Regions from separate parts of the Homo sapiens genome. Here regions 1, 2, 3, 5, 6 and 7 are each linked to region 4. The links are contacts of gene promoters, found by promoter capture Hi-C in blood cells and fetal thymus (Javierre and others, 2016). All regions are on one chromosome and are shown on one strand. Each heading gives the region's core, a stretch centred on a gene start or on the middle of the fragment in contact. The rest is flanking DNA. Distances are from core to core; before and after follow the strand shown. Region 1 overlaps UBR5 (ubiquitin protein ligase E3 component n-recognin 5). Region 2 holds the start of KLF10 (KLF transcription factor 10). Region 3 overlaps UBR5 (ubiquitin protein ligase E3 component n-recognin 5). Region 4 holds the start of PABPC1 (poly(A) binding protein cytoplasmic 1). Region 5 overlaps UBR5 (ubiquitin protein ligase E3 component n-recognin 5). Region 6 overlaps UBR5 (ubiquitin protein ligase E3 component n-recognin 5). Region 7 overlaps RRM2B (ribonucleotide reductase regulatory TP53 inducible subunit M2B).

Region 1 (3,306 bases), core at 569-3,068, 1.5 Mb before region 4:
AGATAAAACTCATGTGAATATCAGTTTTAAGGCTGGTGGTTCATTTGTTTTGGTCATATTGAGTCAGGATTGACTAATGAACTGTAGAGGTTTTGCATTATGCAAATGCTCTTAATTTCTTGTATTAGGAATTAGACGCTCCCCCCCAAGTCTTAAATAATGTTTTAATCTGTATCCTTTTATTATAAGAAGATTAGTAATATTCTACAGATAATAACAACAACTGGTATAGTATATTTTATTTACATTCTTCATTCTTAGGAGAAAATGCTGAGAAGCTTCTGCAGTTCAAGCGTTGGTTCTGGTCAATAGTAGAGAAGATGAGCATGACAGAACGACAAGATCTTGTAAGTTAAAAATTTCACAAGATTTGTAGAAGGAAATACAGAAGTTAAAAATACCATGTATGATGGCCTTTTAAGTTTGTAATGGTTGGTCATTTTAATTTTGGGTAGGGCAATTATAGAAGGTCACAAATAAGGCAGTTTTTGTTTTTCTGCTCTATAACAATATCTGAAGTATTACTAAAGCTCTAAGCAGAGTGAAGTACATTTAGCTGTTAATATGCTGTCCTTAGTCCCAGAAGATACCAGTTTACTGTTGCAACATGGCTTTTTATCTTTATCGCACTGCCTACATATGCTTCTCCCTGTATACATCCTTAATCCTTTTGACTAGTGCCAAGCCTTGACAGAATTTCTGAGTATTATCTTGATTGTTATCTGCATACTAGGAAGAGAGTAGCTTAATTGTGATATGTGGGTACTAAGTCTTTCAAAATCTTATTAGTACAGAGCCCCAGCTAACTTAGAATTATAAATTAGATAACAGAAGCTTTGATCTTAGTGGAAAGTCTACCTCTTAGTGGAACTTACGTCCACCCATCAAGTAAAACCATAACCAAATCATCCTGTCCATTAATCTTGAAAGGCAGTATGCTGCAGACTTTCTTGTAGAAATTTGAAGGACATTCCTTATCTAGAAGACCCTGGAAGATCCTTTCTGTACTCCTGGAACATTGCCCCGGTCTAACCAGCCTTAGTTCTAAACTAGACCACTTCTGGAAATATTTAAAAATGATCAGATTTCTAGATATATCCTTTATTTTATTTGAATAAGGGGAAGTGGTTATTTGTGCAGGAAAGAAAAAAATTGCAGATTCCCAGTTACCTTCATTCAGGCAGAAGCTTATTTTGGGGGTGGTGGAGGGAAGGAGGGGAATTCATGCTTTTAGCACTCCTGAATCTTTACATGGCTCTAGGTGTATTCTAATATTTCTCTGCTATGGTGAGATGGGTTTGTTCAGCAGTCCTAACTGCCACCTAGTTCATTTCTCAGCTTTTAGCCACCCTAGTAATTTTGACTTAGTTTGTTCCCCAGGTGGGTTTGATATAATTGGTCAGCATTTGACTTCTCCAGTCTTATGGCTCTTAAAAGTTCCCACTAGTCAATACCATAACTGTCCCTGTTGGTTTCAGGATCACCTAAATAGCTTAAGTTCTACCACCTTTAGTCAGTCTTTAGATTCAGGGCACCTTGTTTCCTTAAGACAAGCCCCATCTCAAGTCTGTAAGAACCACCAAAAACAGAAAGGATTGGCTATCTGGTATAAGTTCTAAGTCATCTATTTTAATCTATTTCCTAGTTTTAATTTCTGCCAGGTTTTTTTTTTTTTTGAGACGGAGTCTCACTCTGTCGCTCAGGCTGGAGTGCAGTGGCACAATCTCGGCTCACTGCAAGCTCCACCTCCCGGGTTCACGCCATTCTCCTGCCTCAGCCTCCCGAGTGGCTGGGACTACAGGTGCCTGCCACCACGCCTGGCTAATTTTTTGTATTTTTAGTAGAGACAGGGTTTCACCATGTTAGCCTGGATGATCTCGATTTCCTGACCTCATGATCCGCCTGTCTTGGCCTCCCAATTCTGCCGTTTTTAAACCAGTATTTCCTCAGTCCAGTCAGCCAACTTAAATCTCATGAGTTTCTGCCTTCTACTGAAAGAAAAATTTGCTAGTGACTCAATCTTAGAAAAAAGAAAATCTCCTTCTATAAAGACCTCAAAATTTCCTGTCAACAGCTTTAGTTTGTGAACCTTAAACTCTTATTGAAAATCTATGTTTAGGGTGTAAGCAGTTTATCATGGTATCTTCCTCCCCCTTACCCTTCTCCTCTTTTTGGGAAGTCATCCTTCACATATTGTTTGGTTTCATCCTGATGCATCTAGAGGACATAAGAATGGGGTTTCTGAAACAGTTCTCCCATGAATTAATTAGTCCTGCAACTTATAGGGTTTCCAGAGTTATTGGGTAAACTACAGTTTATTTCCCTCTTGGAGTGTTATAATTCACTAGTAAAAGTATTTCTCTTCCAACTTCTTAGAGATCCAGCAGTGAGGTCATCTACCCTGGTTAACCACATTCATCCTTGGAGAAACACTTTATATTAAGCTTGTTTCTTATCTATGAAATGAGTGGTTTAGATCAACTTCATCTCTAGAGTACCTGTTTTCTATTTCTTTTCAGATTTTATAGATCCTGATACTTAACTTTTTTTTTTTTTTTCTGTCCCTTTATATAGAATTCTAGATGAGCTTTCCCATACAACTGTGCTTCAGGAAATCTTAAGTTTGTTTAGGTTTCCTAGTCATTCTAGGAAATTGGATATACTTCATTGTTGTGCATTATAAAATGATTAGATTAAAAAAAAAGCTTTTCCTTAAGAGAGACAGACACTGAAGAATGATGCGTATGTATGAAGGGATGGATTGATGAGGAATGTTACATGTTCAGCAAACTATTTCAGGGAGGCATATCCTTGGTTAAGTTAAAAAGTGTAAGTTCACATTTACTGAGCATCATTTACACTGTGTTGCACAAAGTTTTATTACAGAGGTATGATAAAACTTAGTGTTAATATGGCTTATTGCATGAATTTTGATGCATAGATAGATGTTCCCCAATAATTACTATTATAAAATGATTCTGTATCACAATGTAGCAGTAAATACTTTTTTTGCTTTATTATTTTATTATTTGCATTATTTTGCTCCTTAATGCAAAATAACTTTTTAAGATAACCTGTGTGAGTTTTGAACCTAAGACCGTATCTTTTGTTTGGCAGCCTTTTTTCCACTAATAGACACTTTATGGAATTAGCTGCAAGAAAGGCTCTTAGAAACCATTTAGTCCAACAGCCTCATGTTACAGATGAAAATACTGAGGCTCTGTGACAGAAAGTCACCTTTTTTTCCTCTACTAACTCTAGACTTACTCCTTTGGGGAAAAAAAACAAAAACAAAAACCTGTCTTG
Region 2 (3,677 bases), core at 615-3,114, 1.9 Mb before region 4:
GAAGGTAGGCCTGCCGGAGGGGCATACAGGAGCTTCCTCTCCCGCCACAGTGTCCAGGGCCAACTGCTCCAGCCCTCAGGCTGGGTCAACAGGATGGGACAGCCCAGGCGGAAGGAAACCTGTGGGGAGGGACACCCCGCAGACAGAAGCAGGGACATGGGGTGGGGAGAGGCAGGAAGAGCTGCCGGGCTGCTGAGCTGGCGCCTCTCCAGCAGACTCAGGAGGGGCGGTGACAGGAGGCCATTCCCTCCTCATCCCCGCAGCCCTGGGCCTCTCTGGTCCTGGCCAACAGTATTACTATCATTATTATTGCTGTTGTTCGCTAGCCTGGGCCTTAGATACATTAGAAAAAAACCATCGGAAGATACGCATAGCATTGGCAGTTTCTAAAAGAATTAATTCCCTTCCTGTGTTCATTCTGTGATTACTGGGATAGAAATGCTATTTGCATTACCAGCCTTTCATTCAGTTACAGAGACGTGAGTGCTCGAAGGAGAGACAGTGATTTTTGCCTTAAATTCAGCCTGTCCAAATCGGATAAGATCTCCGATTTGCTTTAAGCCCCGTTATCACTGCCTTCCTCTCCAACAACAGCTGCTGTGATCACGCACAAACGGCCAAACGGGGGCAAATCCGTGCCAAAGCAGGGCCATGGGCTTTCCTGATCAGAAGGCCTAGCCCCAGCCCCCAGGCGCAGCACACGGGCGGCTTCCTTTCAGAAACCCAGCCTGCCTCCCACCAGCTGGAGTGGGTGGGTGGGGCGGTAGTGGTGCCAGTTTCAGGGAACGGCCGGCAAACCCACCTCCAGGCGTGCTCCAGCGGGAGCCTGGAGACCCTAGGAGAGCCCTCCCCACAAGCGGCTTCCAGGCAGGACGCTTCCAGAGGTCTTGGTCCAGGGGTGGGGGTGAGGTGGGGTCTACCTTTGAAACAGCTACAATTTAAACTTCAGCTACACCGAGCTCAAACTCGATTCCGCAGCCGAGTGTCGGCGCCAGAGAAGGATAAAAACTCGGGTCTACGGCTCCCCACCACGCCCCTGGTCCGGTCCTCTGGGCTTCCAGGAGTCCTCACGCCATCCTCTGGGTTGCCCAGGAGGAAGGATGGGCGGGGCGGGCAGGCGCTGCGGGCGCTGCAGATGGGGAGGGCGAGCCCGCGGCACGGCGTGAGCGGGGGAGAGGCGCGCGAGCAGGTGTCGGCTCCGTGACAGGGTCCCCCATCCCGCGCCCCAGTGCTCCCCGAGGCTTAGTGAGGCAAAACCCAGCAAATGCTTCAGAAATGCAGCTCAGTCGGTCACCGGGTTCTGCTTCCTCATCAGACGCGCAAGAGGATGGCGCTTCCAATGCAAATCTCTTGGCTCCGGCCCCTTGGCTGGCAGCCGCCGCGTCCCCCGCCTGCCTGGCGTCCCGCCCACTCCGTGGCGGGCTGAGACGAGGCCCGGCGCGGAGGGGACGGGGCGGAGCGGGCATCCCTCCCCACCCCCCACGTGGGGCTGGCCCTCCGCAGTGCCTGGGCGCGCTGCAGTCGCCGCGCCTCCCCGGCCGCGGCACCGCCTCTCTAGGCAGGGGCGGGGGACGAGGGGCAAGGAGTGGGCGAGGGGTGGGCGAGGGGCGGGGGGCGTCACTCAATCAGGTGGCCTCTGGAGTTCCCCGGGGCAGGGCAGAGGGAACACGCTGCCGGGGATTGTGTACACGCTCCACTGACACCAGCTTCACGCTGCCGGGCAGTCGCCGATCACGCGTGGCCCCGCGAGCCCATTGGCCGGCGCCTCACACACCTTTGCCGTTGATTGGCCGGCCTCAGGCTCCGCCCCCACCCCCGCCCGCGGCGCGGGGCAGGCTGAGCGGCTACCTGAATGGGGAGGGGGCAGACGGCGCTGAGCGCGGCGGCGGCGGGAGCGGCGTCGAGTGTCTCCGTGCGCCCGTCTGTGGCCAAGCAGCCAGCAGCCTAGCAGCCAGTCAGCTTGCCGCCGGCGGCCAAGCAGCCAACCATGCTCAACTTCGGTGCCTCTCTCCAGCAGACTGCGGTAAGTCATTTGGGGATGCCCCTGTGCTTCCTCGCCTGGTCTTGTCTGGGGGGCCAAAGGGGGCGCGAACCCCGAGCCCCGGACATCAGCCATGCCTGAGAATTGGGGCTGCAGCGGAGTCGTGGGGAAGGAAAGGGCTTCCTGCCTGCAGACTATGGGCATTAGTGAGGGCGTGTGTGTTCGGGAGGGGGTCGAACCAGGGGGCTGGGATCTTCAGACAGGGACAGGGGTCTTGCTCTAGATGTACTGAGGGGAAGGGACAACTCCGCATGGAGACCCGAGAGGGCTGGTGAGGAGGAGGATGACGAGCGGGGGAGGAGTGGGGAGGGGGCCGTTGCCCTGCAGCGAGGTTGGGGTACAGTGTGGAACGAGAGTCGCGGGAGGGACAAGGGGGCTACCCTCACCTGGTACCGAGGAGAGATGCCCGGTCTGGCTCAGGAACGCGAGCCAGGGGAGGAAGGGGCTGCTCGCAAGCACTCGGGAGGCGGGGTGTCCACAGGAGAGGCGAGTGGGCTACCCATCCTGGGGGTCTGAACCCACGCTTGGAAGACGGGGGCTGCTCAGCAGATAGCTCGGGGCTGGGGGAAGGGGCGCCTGTCGTCGGAGCGGGGGGATGACACGAGGGCCCGCCGACAGCCCTGGGGGACGAGTTGCTCCCCCAGACGTCTGGAGGGGGACTCTTACCCCAGGGGCAGGTGGCCGCCTTCTGACGACTCCTTGGAAGAGGCGGGGAGCCGCCTCTGGGGCAGGAGGGTGGGAAGCGGGACCCAGCAGCTGGGGCGGGAAGGTGGGCGGGGGGAGCTGGGCCGCGAGACGCGGGGGCCGCGCGTCTGGAGCCGGGGCCTGTGGGGGCTGCACGTCTGGGAACCCGTGGAGACGCGCGGCGGGAGGGGCCTGGAGCTGCCGGAAGCCACGGGGAGGGGGCGCCGCGTCTACAGGGAGAGACGGGGTGGTCTGAGGTCCCGTGGGCCGCGTGGGCGGGAAGTGCCGAGGGCTCGGCCGGGTTCCCGGGGGCTGCCGGCGGGAGGAGGGCGGCGGCCGGGTTTCCGCGGGGACCTGGCTCCTCCTCCCGCATCTGAGGCGGAGGCCGGGGGTGGGCCGGGAGCGGGTGCGCCCGGGGAGCTTCTCGTCCCCGAGTGACCCAGCCCCGGCCTCCGCCAGGGGCGGGAGCGAGGCCCGGCCCCGCTGTCGGTTCCTAAGGGAACGGCGGCTCGCGGGGAGCTGGAAGGGGCGGGCGCCTCCCGGAGCCTGGCGCCCGCAGCCCCGCCCCTCCCCGCGGGCCCGGCGCGCACGGCCGGGCGGTTGGCGGCGGCGCCCGCGGCCCCTCCCCCGGGTCGGGCGCGGGCGGGGGCCCGCAAGCTCAGGAAGTAGGGGAAAGGTGACGGCGCGGCAATTCCCAGTTCACGTTTCCTGCGCCTCCCGGAGCAGCCGCTGATCACGCTTTGTTCACATGCCTCGCCCCCTCCTCGCCCACGCCCCCGCCCCGGGCCGCACAGCCAATCCGGGCTCGGGCCGCCGAGCCGGCCGGCCAATGGCGGGGGCAGGGGCGCGGGGACGTGCGAGCGGCGAGGAATGTTCCCAGTGACTCACCCGTGAGCCTCATTGAGGTTAGGGCGGCCCCATCCGTCGGTCTCCGCCAGCTAGGATCTCCCCC
Region 3 (3,286 bases), core at 439-2,938, 1.6 Mb before region 4:
AAATTTTTATAAACCATTGTGAGTAGAGTTTCTTCTTGGAACTCTATGAAATTAATGGTCTAATGGGCTTTTTACTTACTTGCCTTTACCCTTTTTTTTTTTCAGTTAAATTGCCATATCCAAATCTTAGCAGTGTTGCAGTGTGAAACTTGTTTGCTCAAGAGGCTTTGACAAAGCTGTGTTGATAAATTAAGTGTAAATTTCGTTATTTCTAGATAAAGCTTATCTGAATCATTGTCTCAAGTTGTTGATAGCTTTTATATTTTTCCTTCCCATATTAAACCACTATTTGAAAGCATGCATTGTGTACCTTTTATTCTTGAGTCTTAAAAATATACAATGAAAAAATTAATATAAATACATAGTTTAATAAAAATGTTTTTAATATTCATTCTTTTATAAGAAAATACTTGTCTTTAAAAAATACTAGTTTCCATTATTTCATTTATCTAATTATAAGGAGAATCTTATTTCTTATCTCAGGCCTGAAAGTAAGCAGGAGCCAGTGAAAACAGAAATGGGTCCTCCACCATCTCCAGCATCCACGTGTAGTGATGCATCCTCAATTGCCAGCAGTGCATCAATGCCATACAGTAAGTTTTATTTGTTGTATGCATTTGTGAAAATAGGTCTCATGCAGACAGCTGTGTTTAGTTTGTTTCTGATTTAAGGCAACTCATATCATTTTTTACATCTTTTTATATAATTTGTATCTCTATTACTTTGGTTTTTTTTTTTTGCATAACCTTCTTTGAATAGAAAGATGGTATTTACAGTGTTGACTATTTCTGTTGTTTTTCAGAATTAGAGTTTTAAAAAGATATGTGAAATTCATGATAGTAATAGAAGGAAATAATTGCCACTAGCTAGTCTATCTACTCACTTTTGTTGAGACTCTTATTATTGTAAATTGATTATGTCTTGGTCACAACTTTTGCTCAAAATTTGTAAATTTATAAACCTAGACTTACTGCCACACCATGGATAGAATTTTTTCAAAAATTCCTTAAAATAAATTTTATGGTGTTAATTGCTTTGCAATTTAGGAAATTAAAAGTTAGACTTTAATAGTTATGTGATAGTTTTCTTAAAACTATCTGGCAGATCTTCCTTTTTAAACTCTGGTTAGATACTATAATTTTGGGAGTACAAAATACATTTTACGCTATTTCTTTGTACTTGTTTATACTGGTGTTAATACAATTAAACATTAATGGTTACAGTTGTTCTTCACTGTGAATTTATTTGAAGTACAGATTGATCAGAAAACTCCAATTCATAAAGCAGTAGCTTAGGAAATTGTTGAGAAACTTCACTTATGTATCCCTTTAAAGATAGTCTTTCTTATAAATTTAGATGAAATCTATAAAGTCTCTTTTACATTTTCTTTTTGGTACTTACCATTTTGTTGTTGTCTAAGAACGACGACGGTCAACCCCTGCACCAAAAGAAGAGGAAAAGGTGAATGAAGAGCAGTGGTCTCTTCGGGAAGTGGTTTTTGTGGAAGATGTCAAGAATGTTCCTGTTGGCAAGGTTTGTTCAAGATATCTAAAACTTAATTACTAACAGAATTATAATGATATTGGTTATCCAGGGATTTGTGGTTGATATCTGAGTCCTTTCTTCAGGGCTGTTTTATTTATCATCTTCAGTGGTATCTTTAGTTGCACCCCTGCATCTGATGCAGATCTGTCTTCTCAGTCGCTGACAGATGAAGAGATTATGCCTCTCTTTGAGCATTTGTGATGATATGTTGCTTTTTAAAAAAACTATTATTTGGGAATAGTTTTAGTTTTGTAGAAAAGTTGCATAGAGATACGTTACTTTTTGGTACAGCCCATTTGTTGGATCTCTTAGTTCTAGTTGAGATCATCTTCCATGACATTTAAAATTCTTCCAGAGTACTGAAAAACCTTATTACAAGTCACCTTCCACTTTTTCTCCTCTCTTCTGTTTTGCCTTCTAAGAAACCATCAATTTGAGTGCCATTAATTTCACTCTTCTACTGACACATATTTAAAATGCACTTGCAGTTGTAGAATGTCTGTAAAGTAAAGGTTTTCATGATTACTCAGTAGTTTCTGAAACGTGATAGTCTTTCATTTATACTTAAAGGAAAGAGCAGATATACCAGTTTCTGCAGCTTACAAAGGTCTTTCTCATATACCGTTTCATTTGATTCTCAAAATAGACCTGTAGTTCATGGGTAGGTGTTTTCTTCTGAGAATTAGATACGGGCTTAAAATAAAAAGCATCAAGTAGCAGAAGTGGGACCCAAATTTGTCCTGGTTTCAAATTCTGTGCTTGTCTTTCTGTGCATTGCTGACCCTATCCCTGTGTTGAGTGTATTGTAGCCACTAGCTGTATATGTGGCTGTTTAAATTTGTTAAAATCAAATAACTTAAAAAAGTCAGCACCTTCGTCACATTAGCTTCATTTCAAGTGCTCAGTAGCCACTTATGGCTAATGGCTGCCGTATTGGACACCGCCAATATAGAACGTTGCCATTTTCAAGAAAGTTCTGTCAGACCGAAGGCTGCTTTAATTTAATTAGGAGATGGGAGGATTTCACGGGCTATATACTTAAGTTTTTCAGTTGATTACTGAAAACATTCACTGACTGTAATCACTGGCTGTGTGGGTCAGTTTTCTCTAGCAAATGAGCCTTGAATATAGATGTCAGTAGCAAAGCTCAGAGTCTGTCTGGGTTGATTTTATAACTTGGTGATCATTGAAGAAACATACAAAGAATTGGATTCCTTTAACATTAAATTAGTTCAGTGAATAGAATTTGTATGTTGATTTTATATAAGCTATTGCTAATGTTCATTGAATTTGCCTATACTTCCAGGTGCTAAAAGTAGATGGTGCCTATGTTGCTGTAAAATTTCCAGGAACCTCCAGTAATACTAACTGTCAGAACAGCTCTGGTCCAGATGCTGACCCTTCTTCTCTCCTGCAGGATTGTAGGTTACTTAGAATTGATGAATTGCAGGTAAGTGTAAAGAAGTTATTCAGCAAGTGAATATTGGAACTGACTCCGTGAGTTTATTATGGAGTTTGAAAGCAAAATTCCTTTTGTGTCATGCAGGTTGTCAAAACTGGTGGAACACCGAAGGTTCCCGACTGTTTCCAAAGGACTCCTAAAAAGCTTTGTATACCTGAAAAAACAGAAATATTAGCAGTGAATGTAGATTCCAAAGGTAAATTTTGAAACTTCTTCAGCTGGCATATCCTATATTCCATTAATACTTGTTCAGGAAATGGGAATATGATAAAATAATTC
Region 4 (3,311 bases), core at 273-2,772:
TCTAATTAAATGAGACAAGATATAAAGTACTTAATTCCACACCTAGCAATACAGTTGACATCCATTAAAGTTTATTGAATTAAGGAATAAATTGGGCAATCATTTAACTTCTTTGAGACTGTTCCTGTAACAGTAAAGTAAAATTATTACTACTTGCTCCACCTCCCACACCAGATTGCTCTCAGGAACAAATGATAGTATGTTTACGCGAGTGCTTTAAAAACTGTAAAAGCACTTTACTACTTTCGAGTGGAATTTGTATGTTGATTTAATGTCATTCCTAGAGCCGGTTTTTATTACTATCAATTCGTTAAATTTAGCATTCCTATTAAAACCCACTACTAATGTGCAGAATTGTTTTAGTTATTTATAAGGACGTTGTTTTAGACTATTCCTAATTTTGTCTGGTTGCAGGGCTGTGGTGCCATATAGTAGTGATTGTGACAAACCCGTACTTTCAGGAAAAACATTCACTTTTCTCCACTCCTGGTTTCTATCGCCAAGAAATGTCTGGCAGAAGCAGCACAAATCAATGATTCCAGCCTAGCACCTTAAGGTAAGAAGTGACCAAAGACCCCCAACACAGCTATCCCAAATTAAAGCCACTTTGACCAACGACAACGTCCAGTGAAGACACGGAGGAGGGTCGGGCTGGAAAAGAAGAGGACGAGGAACCCGAGGGGCCCTCCCCTCTCTCTCCCTGCCCCCCAACCCCGCGCCGGGAGCTCCAGCGGTGCCGGGGTCCAGCGCGCAGGACGGTTGGGGGGTCCCGGAGCGGGCGGCCAGGACCCGCGCAGCCAGTTGGTGTCAGCGAGCGCCGCGGCCGTTGGGGACTCCAGCTCCCAGCAGGCACCGCTTCTGCGGCCGACGCGCGTGGCGGCGGTGCCGGCTGGGACTCGTAGTGCGGTCCGGGTAGGAGAGAGCAGGGGGCCACGCTGGCTCCATCTACGCACGTTTCGGAAACCGGGCCCGGAGGGGACCACGCCCGCTCACCCGTGCCCGGCGTCCCCCGGAGCTGGGGCTAGAGGAGCCGGGCCGGCCGCAGCGGGAAGAGGCCACAGGCGGCCGCGCACGTGGGGGGTGGTTAGCGCGGAGGAACCCGGAAGCCCTTTGCACCGCCCACCGCCGCGGTGACGGGTTAACGCTCCTCCTGGTGGAGGCAGGGGCGGGCGGGGCGGAAGGCGGGGACGCCTCAGCCAACACCCCCGAGGACCGCCCGCGAGCCGTCCTCCCCACCCCCACGGACGCGACGCAGCGCGGGCTCCGCTTCCCCGGCCGCGGCGCCTGCGCAAAAGCCCCGCCCCTTCGCCCGAGCCCCACCCCCACACCGCAGCCTCCACCGCCGCCACCTCTCCCTTCCTCTCTGCTCTTTCCTCCTGTTTTCTCTTCCCTCCTCCCCCTGGCCTCCGCGTCTCCTCCTACTCCGGCGCTGACGCTCGCGTAGGGGCCCTGGCGTCAGACGCGCGGGGGCGGGGCGAGTGCGGCGCGGGGTATAAGTAGAGGGTGCAGGAGGCGGTGCTTCCCCTTCTCCCCGGCGGTTAGTGCTGAGAGTGCGGAGTGTGTGCTCCGGGCTCGGAACACACATTTATTATTAAAAAATCCAAAAAAAATCTAAAAAAATCTTTTAAAAAACCCCAAAAAAATTTACAAAAAATCCGCGTCTCCCCCGCCGGAGACTTTTATTTTTTTTCTTCCTCTTTTATAAAATAACCCGGTGAAGCAGCCGAGACCGACCCGCCCGCCCGCGGCCCCGCAGCAGCTCCAAGAAGGAACCAAGAGACCGAGGCCTTCCCGCTGCCCGGACCCGACACCGCCACCCTCGCTCCCCGCCGGCAGCCGGCAGCCAGCGGCAGTGGATCGACCCCGTTCTGCGGCCGTTGAGTAGTTTTCAATTCCGGTTGATTTTTGTCCCTCTGCGCTTGCTCCCCGCTCCCCTCCCCCCGGCTCCGGCCCCCAGCCCCGGCACTCGCTCTCCTCCTCTCACGGAAAGGTCGCGGCCTGTGGCCCTGCGGGCAGCCGTGCCGAGATGAACCCCAGTGCCCCCAGCTACCCCATGGCCTCGCTCTACGTGGGGGACCTCCACCCCGACGTGACCGAGGCGATGCTCTACGAGAAGTTCAGCCCGGCCGGGCCCATCCTCTCCATCCGGGTCTGCAGGGACATGATCACCCGCCGCTCCTTGGGCTACGCGTATGTGAACTTCCAGCAGCCGGCGGACGGTGAGCGCCGGGCTCCGCGGTCGGCCGGGCGGGCGGGCGGCCATGAGGCTCGGGCGGCGGCGGCGGGCGGGGTAGGCCGGCGGGCCCGGGGAGGGGGGCGGGAGGGCATGTCACCCCGCGACGGCCGGCGGGAAGGCGCCGGGGTCCCTGGAGCCGCGTTTCCCGAGCCGGCGGGGACCCGCGCTGCCGGCAGCCACACGCCCGGCTACTTCCTCCTTTGCGACCATTTTCTCGGCCTCAGACGCTCTCAAACTTTAGGGTGATGACGCGCCGGGAGGGTGGGTGAGATTCGGTTCCTCCGCGGCGCTCCCGCCAGTGGCCCCGGGATTCTGGGGCGTTGAACGCTGAGCTCCTTCCGTGGGTAAGAGGTGGAGGCGCTCCCACCACCCGGAGCTCCTGCCGGCGCCCCAGCCTGGGGAGGAAGTGCAGTTCTGTGCTCGAAAAATACCACGTGTTGAACCCTGTAACCTCGCAGGCCCGAGGCCTGCTTCTGCTCCTGCTCCTGGCCCAGTCGCCTGGGGGAGCCACCAGGCCTTAGGATAAAGTTCCTGTGGCGATGTGTGGTGTGGTGGTGGTCCTCAGGCTTGTGAGTCCACTTCCCAGAACTCATCAGTGACTGATGGATCTAGGAATGGAATTTACCGGAGACATGCATTTGGGGTTTCCCCTAGATCAAGCATTTCTCTAACATTAAAAGGGCAGAGTGGGAGGAGGGGATGTGGCAGCCGACCACTTTGAAGGCCAGTTTTCTCAGGCAACTTAGACCATTTTTAGTCAAATTTTATCTTAGATTCACAGTACTGGTGGTTTTCGAGTATATTATGTTACCTTCTGAAATAGTTCCTGTCGTTTTGAGGGGCTTTTCTTTATAAAATAGTCAACTTTGGCTATAAAATGTTACTTTAGTGTAATTCCAACTGGACCAGTCTTATCTGTAGCATGCAAGAAGTTCAAGTTTCTCTTTTATTTTTAAAAGTGGCCCATGATACCTGTAAATCTTGGGAAATGACTGAGTACAAAATAACGGAGATTAAATTGAGCTTGAAATTTATGGGGGAAATGCAGCTAACTTTGTGCTTTTATTTTGAAGCT
Region 5 (3,652 bases), core at 1-2,500, 1.6 Mb before region 4:
GTATTACAAGTACATGAAAAGTATGTTTTTCAAGTACTCTTCTTTGCTGTGAAACTAGAAAAGAATTTAAACCTTAAGATCCAGTGCGAATGAGGTTATGGTAATAACACACTCAGATAGGGATGGGGTGGCATTGCATCGTTCCTTTCTCTGGAAAACATAAAACTATCAGTGCCCTCAGAACCTGTCATAAATAAATAATTTACGATGTGAGAAAAATAAAGGCATGTCACAGAATAATGTAAAATTTAAAAACAGAAAAATATCAGCCTAATACTAGTGTAATCTTGAATCAAATTATAGCCTGACCACTTACTGGAATATGATGCAGCAATTTAAAAATAAATCGTATTGTAAATAACGTAAAAAAAAAAACCAAACAACCAAACTGTGAAAATTGGGTGTTCTCTGTAGCTAACATTTATACAAGAAGCTGCACACAGAAAAGAGACTAGAAAGTAATAATGGTTCCATGAGGGAGATGGGATTATGAATTTATTCATATAAATATTTGAGTCTGCTTTGCTGTTTTGGAAAGTGCCCCAGACTGAGTTTATGTTTTCTTCTTCTGATTTCATATATTTGGTATTGTTCTTCTAAATATTAGTTGATATACCAAGGACTGTGGGACAAAAAATAAGAAATCGTACATTTAGGACTCACTGTATGTCAAGCACATTGGCAGGTATATTTCATAAACTGACCTTGTAAATGTTTTGGTTAAATTTGTTTTGAGATTTTATTATAAAATGTTAATACTTAAAAAATGTTAGAACTTATAACTTTATGAATGTCTAAACATCTTATGAAGTATCTTAACATTAATAGAGTGAATATAATTTTTTAAAGCTTTTAGATACTCTACTAGGTACACTAGTGAAAGAACTCCAAAACAAATATACACCTGGACGTAGAGAAGAAGCTATTGCTGTGACAATGAGGTTTCTACGTTCAGTGGCAAGAGTTTTTGTTATTCTGAGTGTGGAAATGGCTTCATCCAAAAAGAAAAAGTAAGGCATCCTTTTTGATTTTGGTTTAGATACCATTTTCACTCTGTTTTTGTGATAGTGATTTATGTATATGAAAAGATAGATTGCTGATATTTCTCTTTTTGTTCTAGCAACTTTATTCCACAGCCAATTGGAAAATGCAAGCGTGTATTCCAAGCATTGCTACCTTACGCTGTGGAAGAATTGTGCAACGTAGCAGAGTCACTGATTGTTCCTGTCAGAATGGGGATTGCTCGTCCAACTGCACCATTTACCCTGGCTAGTACTAGCATAGATGCCATGCAGGGCAGTGAAGAATTATTTTCAGTGGAACCACTACCACCACGACCATCATCTGATCAGTCTAGCAGGTAAATTGCTACCAGGTAACAGATTCTGATTAATCCTTCTCTGGAAATGTCGTGTTTGACTTCCTAAAACCTTTGCATAAGCACTCAGGTGGTGTACATGATCATTTGTGTAACATAAATAACAACCAGAAAGCCGGAATTTTAAATATTTTTCTACAACAACTGTATTATCAAGGACAGGGCTAAAATAACTCCATTATAAATGTTTCTAATTATAAGATTATTTGTTCTTAAGTTTCATTTATCTTTTCTATTTGTTTGATAGTTTCCCTAATTACACTGTAAGCTTGTTGAATCAGGATGTTGAGCAACTTAAAACTTTCCGATGTCCTTTAGCACACTGCTTCTCAAACTTTAATATGTATGAAAATGACTTGGGGCTCTTATTAAAATATAGATGCCCACTCTAGAGGTCTTGAGGTGGGGCCTCCAACTTCGTATGCCTTTCAAGTTCTCAGGTGATGCCAATTCTGCTGGTTTAGGGGTCAGACTTTTCAGTAATAATGCTGTAGATCTTTGGCAAATATTTAGTGTATTTTGTTTTTTCAAGTCTGATTTTATAACCATGTGCATGTGTGATGATGTTTTAATAAGGACCTTTAGGATCTAAAGACCCTTTTCCTCCTTTTCTGGAAAACATCTCTGTTAATAAGGATGGCCTGCTTTAGTGTTTGGGATAGTTCCCAAGTTGTTACGCTTGGATTTGATCTGGGTTGGTGTTGAGTATCTGCTCTCACTATTCTCCTATATGCCAGTATATGTGTCCCAATTTTTCCTTTAATGTCAGGTGTCCCTTTAATCTAAATCCAGTTTTGTCTGACAGAGCTCTCCCATAGTATCCTTGATACTGATATACATCCAGGACTTGTTGAAAACTGTTACAAATCAAGCTGTGTATCTTCAGACTTGTCAAATCTATCCCATGATTAAATAATTCTGCTTGTGAGATCTGCTTGGACTCTGTATGATTTTCCTGATCTTGATACCCTGTGAGGAACTCATTAGTTACTTAAGTGGTATTACTTTGTGAATTCTTAGTATACTTCCCTTGATCTTGTTCTGGAACATAAAAAATTGATGGCTGTTGAACAGATTTTGGGATCGTCTCATCTCTAAACACTGCCCTTGAAACTGTTCCTACTAAGTTTCAAGATTTTGTGTCATCTTGTTCTTAGTCTCATTATTAAAGTATTACATACTCTTAAACTCTCTTTATTCCATTCCCTTTGCTTGTTTCTTGAGACAACTTCCTAAATCTTCCCAGAAGGAGATCTCATGTGATAATCAAGAAATAGTGCTAATGTTTTCTTCAACTGTTAAAAGTTCTTTATTATAGTACAGTACATTCTTACCCATAAAGGGTGTATTTTGACTAGTGTTCCAAGGATGTCTTAAGTTGAAAAACACAGACCTTGACCATTCTCTGGGATTTCACTTGTCTTGGATTATAGAAGGTGTATATCACCCCATTGAGTGTGAAGTCTTAAGAGTAGCTTTTTCTGTTGCTTCTTTCCACCTCTTGAAAATGTTCTTGTTATGTTCTTAATAAATAATCTGTTTCTACTTTATTTCCATGTCTCTCATATAACAGTAACTAACAGTTACTGAAATTTTAGTATGTACTAGGAACTTTCCTAAGTATTGTAGACAGATTACCTGTTTTAATTTTCCCAATATGTCATAGATAACCACTATCATTCTAGTTTGTCAAATGGGGAAACTACGGCTCAGAAAAGTTAGGCAACTTCTCCAGTGTAACACAGCTAATTAAAGTTTAGACGCTGGACTTACCTTGACAGATACTTCCTTTTTTTTTTGTATTCTCCTGAATAGTAGATGGCAGAGTAGAGAGGAAGACTACTTGGTGCTTGCTCATAGTGTTGAGCCACCACACAGTTAACCAACACTGAACCAGGCTTTATAGTGTAGAGTGCAGTCCAAAACTCTCCAAAATGCAGACTTGTAGTTAGAAGTTCTCAAAAGAGACCTTTTTCCATTCTGCATCTATTCATGGCTGAGATAGGTAAATCTCTCGAGGTATGATTTTTCTGTTTCACTCCTTCATGGTGTTGCCCTTTTAAGATTTATGTTTAGCTTTATATATGTGAGGGGGACAGAAGAGGAGATTCCTGTGATGACTTTCTATTCTTTGCTTAGCCTCCAGACTCTCATGTGAAATCTGTGGTTCCTTGAAGCCCTTCTAGCCCAAGAGACATCAGTGGGTCCCTTTGGGATAAATGGTGGCACTTGTCTCTCCAAGCTTTATACAGTACAGTCGTTTCTCTTTATCAC
Region 6 (3,548 bases), core at 261-2,760, 1.6 Mb before region 4:
CATATTAAGTTTTAACCATGCTGAGTTTGAATTGAGCATCGTTGACGTGGACATATTTATTTAACAAATGGAGATTCTGGTTCATGGTGAAAGTTTGAACTAGAGGTGGATCTGGGAGTCACCTAAATGGAGATAGACATTGGACTTTAAGGAGAGGAGGTAAAATGAAAGACGAAGATAAGACATAGCCCAGGGATTTATCCGTATGTAGAATACAGAAGGAATAAGGGAGGAAAAATAATAAGTTGTCGGGAACAAGTAGCTATGGAAAAGTTCTCTGTTAGGACACAGTTTGAAGAAGTTAAGACCTCAGAATATTTTTTAAAAAAAGTAAGTTACTACCATTGAACAAAAACCAATCAGTCTTTGAAATTGGCTAAATTATTTCTCCCCCCCACCCCTTCCCTTAAACTTCTTACAGGCCACAGTGTAGCTTTATGGGAATGGTTATTTCCCATGATATGCTGCTAGGACGTTGGCGCCTTTCTTTAGAACTGTTCGGCAGGGTATTCATGGAAGATGTTGGAGCAGAACCTGGATCAGTATGTATTTTGTGCACCTTAAATTCCATTCTGCCTGATAAGCATGTATTTCAGGGAATAATCTGTCATGCATTTTTTTTTTTTTAAGATCCTAACTGAATTGGGTGGTTTTGAGGTAAAAGAATCAAAATTCCGCAGAGAAATGGAAAAACTGAGAAACCAGCAGTCAAGAGATTTGTCACTAGAGGTAAAGGTATTTAGATTTTCTTATACTATACCTGTAGTATGCTATTTATATAAATTTTAAAACATGCAAAATAACAATAGCTTTGCTTAGGGATATGTACTTATAATTAAAAATTTAAAGAAAATAAAAAGAAATGTTAACTACCAAATTTATTTTTTCGTGTGTGTGTGTGTGTGTGTGTGTGGTTTCTTTTTATTTTTTTCTTATTGTAACCACCAAATTTAGAATAGTAGTTTTCTCTGGCAGTTTGGTTCCCTAGCATCCTCTATGAATTTTTTTGTTTTAGTTTTTAAGTATCATTATGCATGCATTGATTTAAACTTTTTTTGATGTATTTAATTCCATTGAGATTATTATTCATATTGATGCTCAGATTGTGTCTTCTTTGGCTAATGGGAGTCTTGAGTCAGTTTTGATTCCTGAGTTCTTTTGACATGGCCCCAATAATTTTTGATAAACTTTCTTACTTTCTGGTATGTTTCATCTTGGGTATTTCCTGTCACAGACCTTAAATCAGCCATTTCTTAAAGTAGCTTTGATTCCTTTTAGTAGGAAATTGTGTTATGAGATTACAGTCTGTGCTCTAAGGTTGCATATTGCTACTGGGTTGATCATGGTTTCTAGGCCTTTTTAATTGATAACAGTTTGGGAATGCATTTTTTTTGTTCTTTTTAAAAAATCAAATAATGAATTAATATTGATACTCCCAATTCAAATTCAGGATTTAGGACCACAAGGTTGTTTTTGTTATGTTTGCTTCTTAGATTTCTTTCTTTTTTTTTTTTTTTTTGGAGACAGTCTTGCTTTGTCGCCCTGGCCAGAGCATAGTGGCATGATCTTGGCTCACTGCAACCTCCGCCTCCTGGGTTCAGGTGACTCTACTGCTTCAGCCTCCCGAGTAGCTGGGATTACAGGTGTCTGCCACCATGCCTGGCTAATTTTTGTATTTTTAATAGAGACAGGGTTTCACCATGTTGGCCAGGCTGGTCTCAAACTCCTGACCTCAAGTAATCCACCTGCCTTGGCCTCCCAAAGTGCTGGGATTACAGGTGTGAGCCACCACACCTGGCCTTGCTTCTTAGATCTTAAGTCTTTATCTCCTTTCTTTCAAACTGAATAGCCAACTTCCCAACAACATTAATCAAATTACTCATTTGTTTTAATGCCACAACATACACAGTAGCAGTCTTAGAATTACATCACTGGAATCTGAGGTGGAAGGATGGTTTGAGTCCAGGAATTCGAGGACAGCCTGGGCAACATAGTGTGAGAGACTCTGTCTCTTACAAAGAATTATAACATCAACACTACCACTAACAAAATGATTATTCAAAATAATTGAAGATTTATTTGCGGATGTTTGTCCTTAGGTCATATGCAGTTAGAGATACACAGTTAAATTAGGTTTGTTTTAAAGTCACTTGAAGTAATTCTTCTTTGTAGGTTTTGCTACCAGCTCTATATAATTAGGGCCTTTTGTTTCATTTTGCTTTCAGATTTTAGGGATTCGTTTTTCCTCTTTTGGTTTTATTTTGTAATCAATGTAAAATATCTACAGTGTGGCAGAGTGAACTCTACAAAAGAATGGATATAAGTCCATTCTTGTCTCTTTTACCATTTTTTCAAGTTTATTTCCTTCCCTCCCTTTTAAAACATATAAGCATATGTATGTATTAATTACATACCTCCTCCCACCTCCCCAAACATACTATACATTTTATTCCATCTTGCTTTTCTCACTTAGTAGTATATCCCAGAGAAAATATGAGATGTTCTACCTTCCTTTTATAGCTGCTTAATGTACTGCACTTTAATGGTTGTTATCGCAGTTTTTGCAGCTAATCCCTTACAGACTAGGTATTTGGGCTTGTTTCCAGTCTTTTGCTATTACAGATAGTGTGATGAATGGCCTCGTGTTTTTTTTTGCTAGTGTGTCCCTGAGATAGATTCTTAGACATGGAATTGCTGGGTCAAAGAGCATGTGCATATAATTTTGCTAGACATTGACAAATACTTCTGCATAAGCAGTTGCATAATTTTGCATTTTCACCATCAATGTGAGAATGCCTGATTGCTCAGTCTCGCCAGCAGTTGTTAAATTTCTAGATTTTTGCTAATCTAATAGGTAAGAAATAGCACCTCAGTATAGTTTTAATTTGAATTTATCTTATTTTGAGCAAAGTTAAACATTATTTCATATAGTTAGGATAGTTATATTTAACTCAGTTGATATGCCCATTTTTCTAAGTTGGCTTTCTCTCAGATTTCAGAGGCTTTTTATGTAGCTGTAGGTGATAGACACACTCATTAATTAATATGTATCTTTGTGACAAAAGGTGCAAACAATTTTTCCAGTTTGGTTAGTCCCCCTCCAGCCTCCCGCCCACTTAGCTTGTCATCAAGGAATCTGTTTTTTTTCTAGTATTTTTTTTTTAACATCTCTGATCATTTGGTATTTTGGTGTATCCCAAAATTGAACAAGATTATTGTTTTCCAATAGACCTTTGAAAGAAAGTGTTAGAATTGAATTAAATTCTGTTGTCCTGATTTAATTTGCAAGACATTCTTGTATGCTTTAAAGTATTGTATTTTGTAATGGATAAGCTTCTGAGAACTCCAATTACTTTGTTGTTTTTTAAACTCTCAAGGAAAGGCTAAAACTAGATTTTCAGATTGTACATAGAAAAATTCAAGCTACTTTCCAACATTGAATTTACTACTTTTTGACTTCTTGATGTGTTTTAATAGGTTGATCGGGATCGAGATCTTCTCATTCAGCAGACTATGAGGCAGCTTAACAATCACTTTGGTCGAAGATG
Region 7 (3,222 bases), core at 11-2,510, 1.5 Mb before region 4:
CATCTGTACTGTGATGGCAGTAGGTATAAAGCACGCAAGCCCCCCTGTATTTGCATAGCCGTATGCTTGTATTTTGGGCTTTCTTCTTGCTAAGCCTTAGCCTCCTCTGCTATAACAGTTGCTTTGGCGAGGTGACAATGGGTGGACGCTGGAGTAAGGAACATAACGGGCCTGTCACAGTAGAGAGAGAGACAGTTTTGGATAGGAGTCTAGAAGTTGTATGTGTTCTAATCCTGGTTTATACACGTTTAGCTTATTTGTATGTCCTTTGTTTATACTCATTCTCACACATGTGCGACTCTTCTGATTCTCTTCTGATGTTCCCGCTATTTTAAAAATATATGCATGGCACCATTTGCTCTTAGAGTGCCATCGTGTTTTGAAGCAGTGTGAATACAGGTATGTGTTTCTCACTTTATTCACAAAGCTTTGAGACAGCCCACAGTGAGATCATATGCAGTAATGTTAGAATGTAAATAGCAGTAACAAATTGGAGTATCAGAAGGCTAAGATGAACAAAGGTTAAGTTGTAGGTAATGAGTTTTCAGATAAGTATTATATTATTTCAGTGAAGAGTAGAAAGAAAAAACATTAAAGTAGCTTATACCAGTAGCTTATTCATTCCAGCAATCTTATCAGAGAGGCTCTAAAGGGACATTTTGTTCACAAACTTAGAAATTTGCCCATCATGATGACATTTATGGGTCTAGCTTTGTACTTATCCTCAAACTAGCAATAATTACAATAATTTTTGAGTGCTTACTATATACCAGGCTTTGTTTAAAGCACTTTTAATCATCAGAATAAACCTATGAGGTAGGAATTATTTTACAGCTGAGGAGACTGAGGGTTAGAGAAGTTAAGCAGCTTTCTATGGTCACACACGCACTTCCTAACAGTATTAGTCAGCTACCAGGTAACAGTAAGGATTCAACCCAGGCAGACAGGCTCTCAAACCAATGCCGTCTCCCTGACTTCCTTAGATGTATGTTTAGGTATGAATAAAGAAGAAATGTCTATATAAAAGGCGTGTTTGTACTTTATTTTTCAAAGAGATCATCTTCAGACACCAACGAAAGTGAAATAAAGTCAAATGAAGAGCCACTCCTAAGAAAGAGTTCTCGCCGGTTTGTCATCTTTCCAATCCAGTACCCTGATATTTGGAAAATGTATAAACAGGCACAGGCTTCCTTCTGGACAGCAGAAGAGGTACGTGGCATTGCCTCCAAGAGCATTCACATCCTATAGTGCAGTGTTCCTTCTTGTTTTACAGGATATTGAATAACTTTAACTTATACATTGAAGAAGATCAGTTGTAGAAGATAAGTGTTGGAATTACTGAGACTAAATATGATGTTCTCAATGTTTTAGTTTAGATTACTATCTATAAACAAGTTTTCTGCTGCAACAATGGCATCTAATTCTGCCAGATTTTTATTTCCAATATATTAGAACATTTTTTTTCTTTTTCTTTTTTTTTTTTTTTTTTGAGACAGAGTCTCACTCTGTCACCCAGGCTAGAGTGCAGTGGCGCGATCTCAGCTCACTGCAAACTCCACCTCCCGGGTTCAAGCGATTCTCCTGCCTCAGCTTCCTGAGTAGTTGGGATTACAGGCGCCAGCCACCACGCCCAGCTAATTTTTGTATTTTTAGTAGAGATGGGGTTTCACCACATTGGCCAGGCTGGTCTCAAACTCCTGACCTTGTGATCCACCTGCCTCAGCCTCCCAAAGTGCTGGGATTACAGGCATGAGCCACCACGCCCAGCCAACATTTTCTATTTTTAAACAGACTTTTAGTTTGATATGGCCAAGTAAGACTTGTCTGACTAGTCTTACAAGGTCAGCAGAATAAGTAAAATTGCAGCTGTAGTCAAAAAATGAGTGAAAGCTGTAGCAACTCTGCTTTCAATTGAGAGATTTATCTGATTGTACAAAATGAGCCGCTGCATGAAGAGTTTGATCCTCTAGGCTGTGGACTCACTCCCGAGTCAGCCAGGTGGAACTCACAGTGCTGCTCCCAGTTTGGCCCTGCCCTCAGCTACATCAAACGTGACAGAGTTGCCACTAATAGATCAGCTGTAGAAAGCTTTTTGTTAATTCCACCTGGGAGATCAGTTGAACACAGCAAACTAGAAAATATTTGCTGGTTGGTAAGGACAGTGGTCATGAAAATGATTGCCCTGTAGTCTAACTGAACAAATAGTTATTGTCTTGATCTTTAAATATAATGGGTGATACCTATACAGCACTCTTGTTCTGTATATGTTTGTATATGTATCTCTATAGATAGATGTATCTATTTGGATAGATAGATTTGAATCTATTTTTCAAGACATTAATTCTATAAATGTTAAACACATGCTGTTAAGAATGCAGGCTATGGGGTCAGACTGCCTAGGTACAAATCCTGTGCCACTACTTACTAGCTATGGAACTGGGAAAGTTACATAACCTCTCTGTGTATCCTCATCAGTAAATTAGGCTAATTGTACTTGGCTATTTGTGTTGTTATGAGGATTTATGAGATATTTAAAATGGTAGTTGACACTTAGTAGGCACTAAATAAATGTAAACTATTATTTTATGCACAGAAGGGGGAAAATTTAACCTAGAAATCAGAAGGCACCAGTGTTTGAAGCTTCTATTACACTAATTTTACCCACTTACCCATCTTTGTTATATTGTAGTGTTATATTGTCAACATCTTTGTTATATTATAGTTGACATATAGAGCAAAAAACCAAACCACACAAAAACAAACACCCAATATTTTCATACGTGGTCATAATGCTTGACACACCTGACTGTCCCTAACTGTCTGTGGTTTTTAGAAAGGTTTTTTGTTAGATACGGTTCAGAGAACGAGTGGAATACGCAGGTGGCTTTTTCGTTCATTATGTTAAAAAGGTACTTAGGATTCTTAGGATTCTTGAAATTCATTTGGAAATTAACTTGCATCTTTTAGCAAAGGTAATATGTGACCTGTAACAAAGCAACACTAATTTTTAAAAACTGAAATCTACAGGTTGGTACGTGTTCTGTAGCTAATTATAGGACGATTCAAATACATATTTTGAAGATAAATCAAACACATTTTTAGTTCCACATATTTTTCATTTACAAATTATGTAAGTTACCATTTAGTCAGCTTAAATGGTTGAGCTTAATTCTTAAATATGGCTGATCAACAGAAACCCTGATCAAAAGACAAAAGTCTGGG

Evidence for each region. The method cuts DNA at HindIII sites, captures the fragments that hold promoters and counts their contacts. A CHiCAGO score of 5 or more calls a contact.
Region 1: a fragment that was not itself captured here is called in contact with the fragment with the promoter of PABPC1 in region 4 in 3 of 17 cell types (total B cells, monocytes and fetal thymus); the score reaches 11.7 in total B cells.
Region 2: a contact is called between the fragment with the promoter of KLF10 here and the fragment with the promoter of PABPC1 in region 4, in 3 of 17 cell types (monocytes, fetal thymus and total B cells). The highest score is 9.9, in monocytes.
Region 3: a fragment that was not itself captured here is called in contact with the fragment with the promoter of PABPC1 in region 4 in 1 of 17 cell types (monocytes); the score reaches 7.0 in monocytes.
Region 5: a fragment that was not itself captured here is called in contact with the fragment with the promoter of PABPC1 in region 4 in 1 of 17 cell types (monocytes); the score reaches 6.9 in monocytes.
Region 6: a contact is called between a fragment that was not itself captured here and the fragment with the promoter of PABPC1 in region 4, in 1 of 17 cell types (total B cells). The highest score is 5.0, in total B cells.
Region 7: a fragment that was not itself captured here is called in contact with the fragment with the promoter of PABPC1 in region 4 in 3 of 17 cell types (monocytes, neutrophils and total B cells); the score reaches 9.8 in monocytes.

What each region holds. Positions count from the first base shown.
Region 1 is chr8:102,254,673-102,257,978 of GRCh38, reverse strand. It overlaps UBR5 (ubiquitin protein ligase E3 component n-recognin 5), which reads left to right. Exons shown (of 59, transcript NM_015902.6): 58 at 262-347. Among named protein-coding and RNA genes, the nearest start is that of UBR5-DT, 17 kb to the right of the region's middle. The HindIII fragment of the contact is 1,257 bases long and covers 1,190-2,446 here.
Region 2 is chr8:102,653,912-102,657,588 of GRCh38, reverse strand. It overlaps KLF10 (KLF transcription factor 10), which reads left to right and starts at 1,864. Exons shown (of 4, transcript NM_005655.4): 1 at 1,864-2,023. The coding sequence starts at 1,988. It overlaps LOC101927245 (a long non-coding RNA gene), which reads right to left and starts at 1,341. Exons shown (of 5, transcript NR_160672.1): 1 at 803-1,341. RefSeq lists enhancers at 1-32, 33-633, 1,234-1,834, 3,128-3,677, silencers at 975-1,994, 2,895-3,677 and a promoter at 1,274-2,008. The HindIII fragment of the contact is 6,240 bases long and covers 1-3,677 here.
Region 3 is chr8:102,312,051-102,315,336 of GRCh38, reverse strand. UBR5 (ubiquitin protein ligase E3 component n-recognin 5) reads left to right here. Exons shown (of 59, transcript NM_015902.6): 15 at 484-593; 16 at 1,421-1,533; 17 at 2,852-2,995; 18 at 3,092-3,203. Among named protein-coding and RNA genes, the nearest start is that of UBR5-DT, 74 kb to the right of the region's middle. The HindIII fragment of the contact is 2,930 bases long and covers 224-3,153 here.
Region 4 is chr8:100,720,299-100,723,609 of GRCh38, reverse strand. PABPC1 (poly(A) binding protein cytoplasmic 1) reads left to right here and starts at 1,522. Exons shown (of 15, transcript NM_002568.4): 1 at 1,522-2,219. The coding sequence starts at 2,027. RefSeq lists enhancers at 395-895, 896-1,396, 1,451-2,283 and silencers at 686-1,395, 1,476-1,555, 2,236-2,345. The HindIII fragment of the contact is 6,173 bases long and covers 1-3,311 here.
Region 5 is chr8:102,291,313-102,294,964 of GRCh38, reverse strand. UBR5 (ubiquitin protein ligase E3 component n-recognin 5) reads left to right here. Exons shown (of 59, transcript NM_015902.6): 33 at 850-1,010; 34 at 1,121-1,360. Among named protein-coding and RNA genes, the nearest start is that of UBR5-DT, 54 kb to the right of the region's middle. The HindIII fragment of the contact is 797 bases long and covers 852-1,648 here.
Region 6 is chr8:102,272,702-102,276,249 of GRCh38, reverse strand. UBR5 (ubiquitin protein ligase E3 component n-recognin 5) reads left to right here. Exons shown (of 59, transcript NM_015902.6): 46 at 422-542; 47 at 631-729; 48 at 3,478-3,548. Among named protein-coding and RNA genes, the nearest start is that of UBR5-DT, 35 kb to the right of the region's middle. The HindIII fragment of the contact is 3,650 bases long and covers 1-3,335 here.
Region 7 is chr8:102,230,136-102,233,357 of GRCh38, reverse strand. RRM2B (ribonucleotide reductase regulatory TP53 inducible subunit M2B) reads left to right here. Exons shown (of 9, transcript NM_015713.5): 2 at 1,054-1,209. Among named protein-coding and RNA genes, the nearest start is that of RRM2B, 7.2 kb to the left of the region's middle. RefSeq lists a silencer at 1,429-1,648. The HindIII fragment of the contact is 1,661 bases long and covers 430-2,090 here.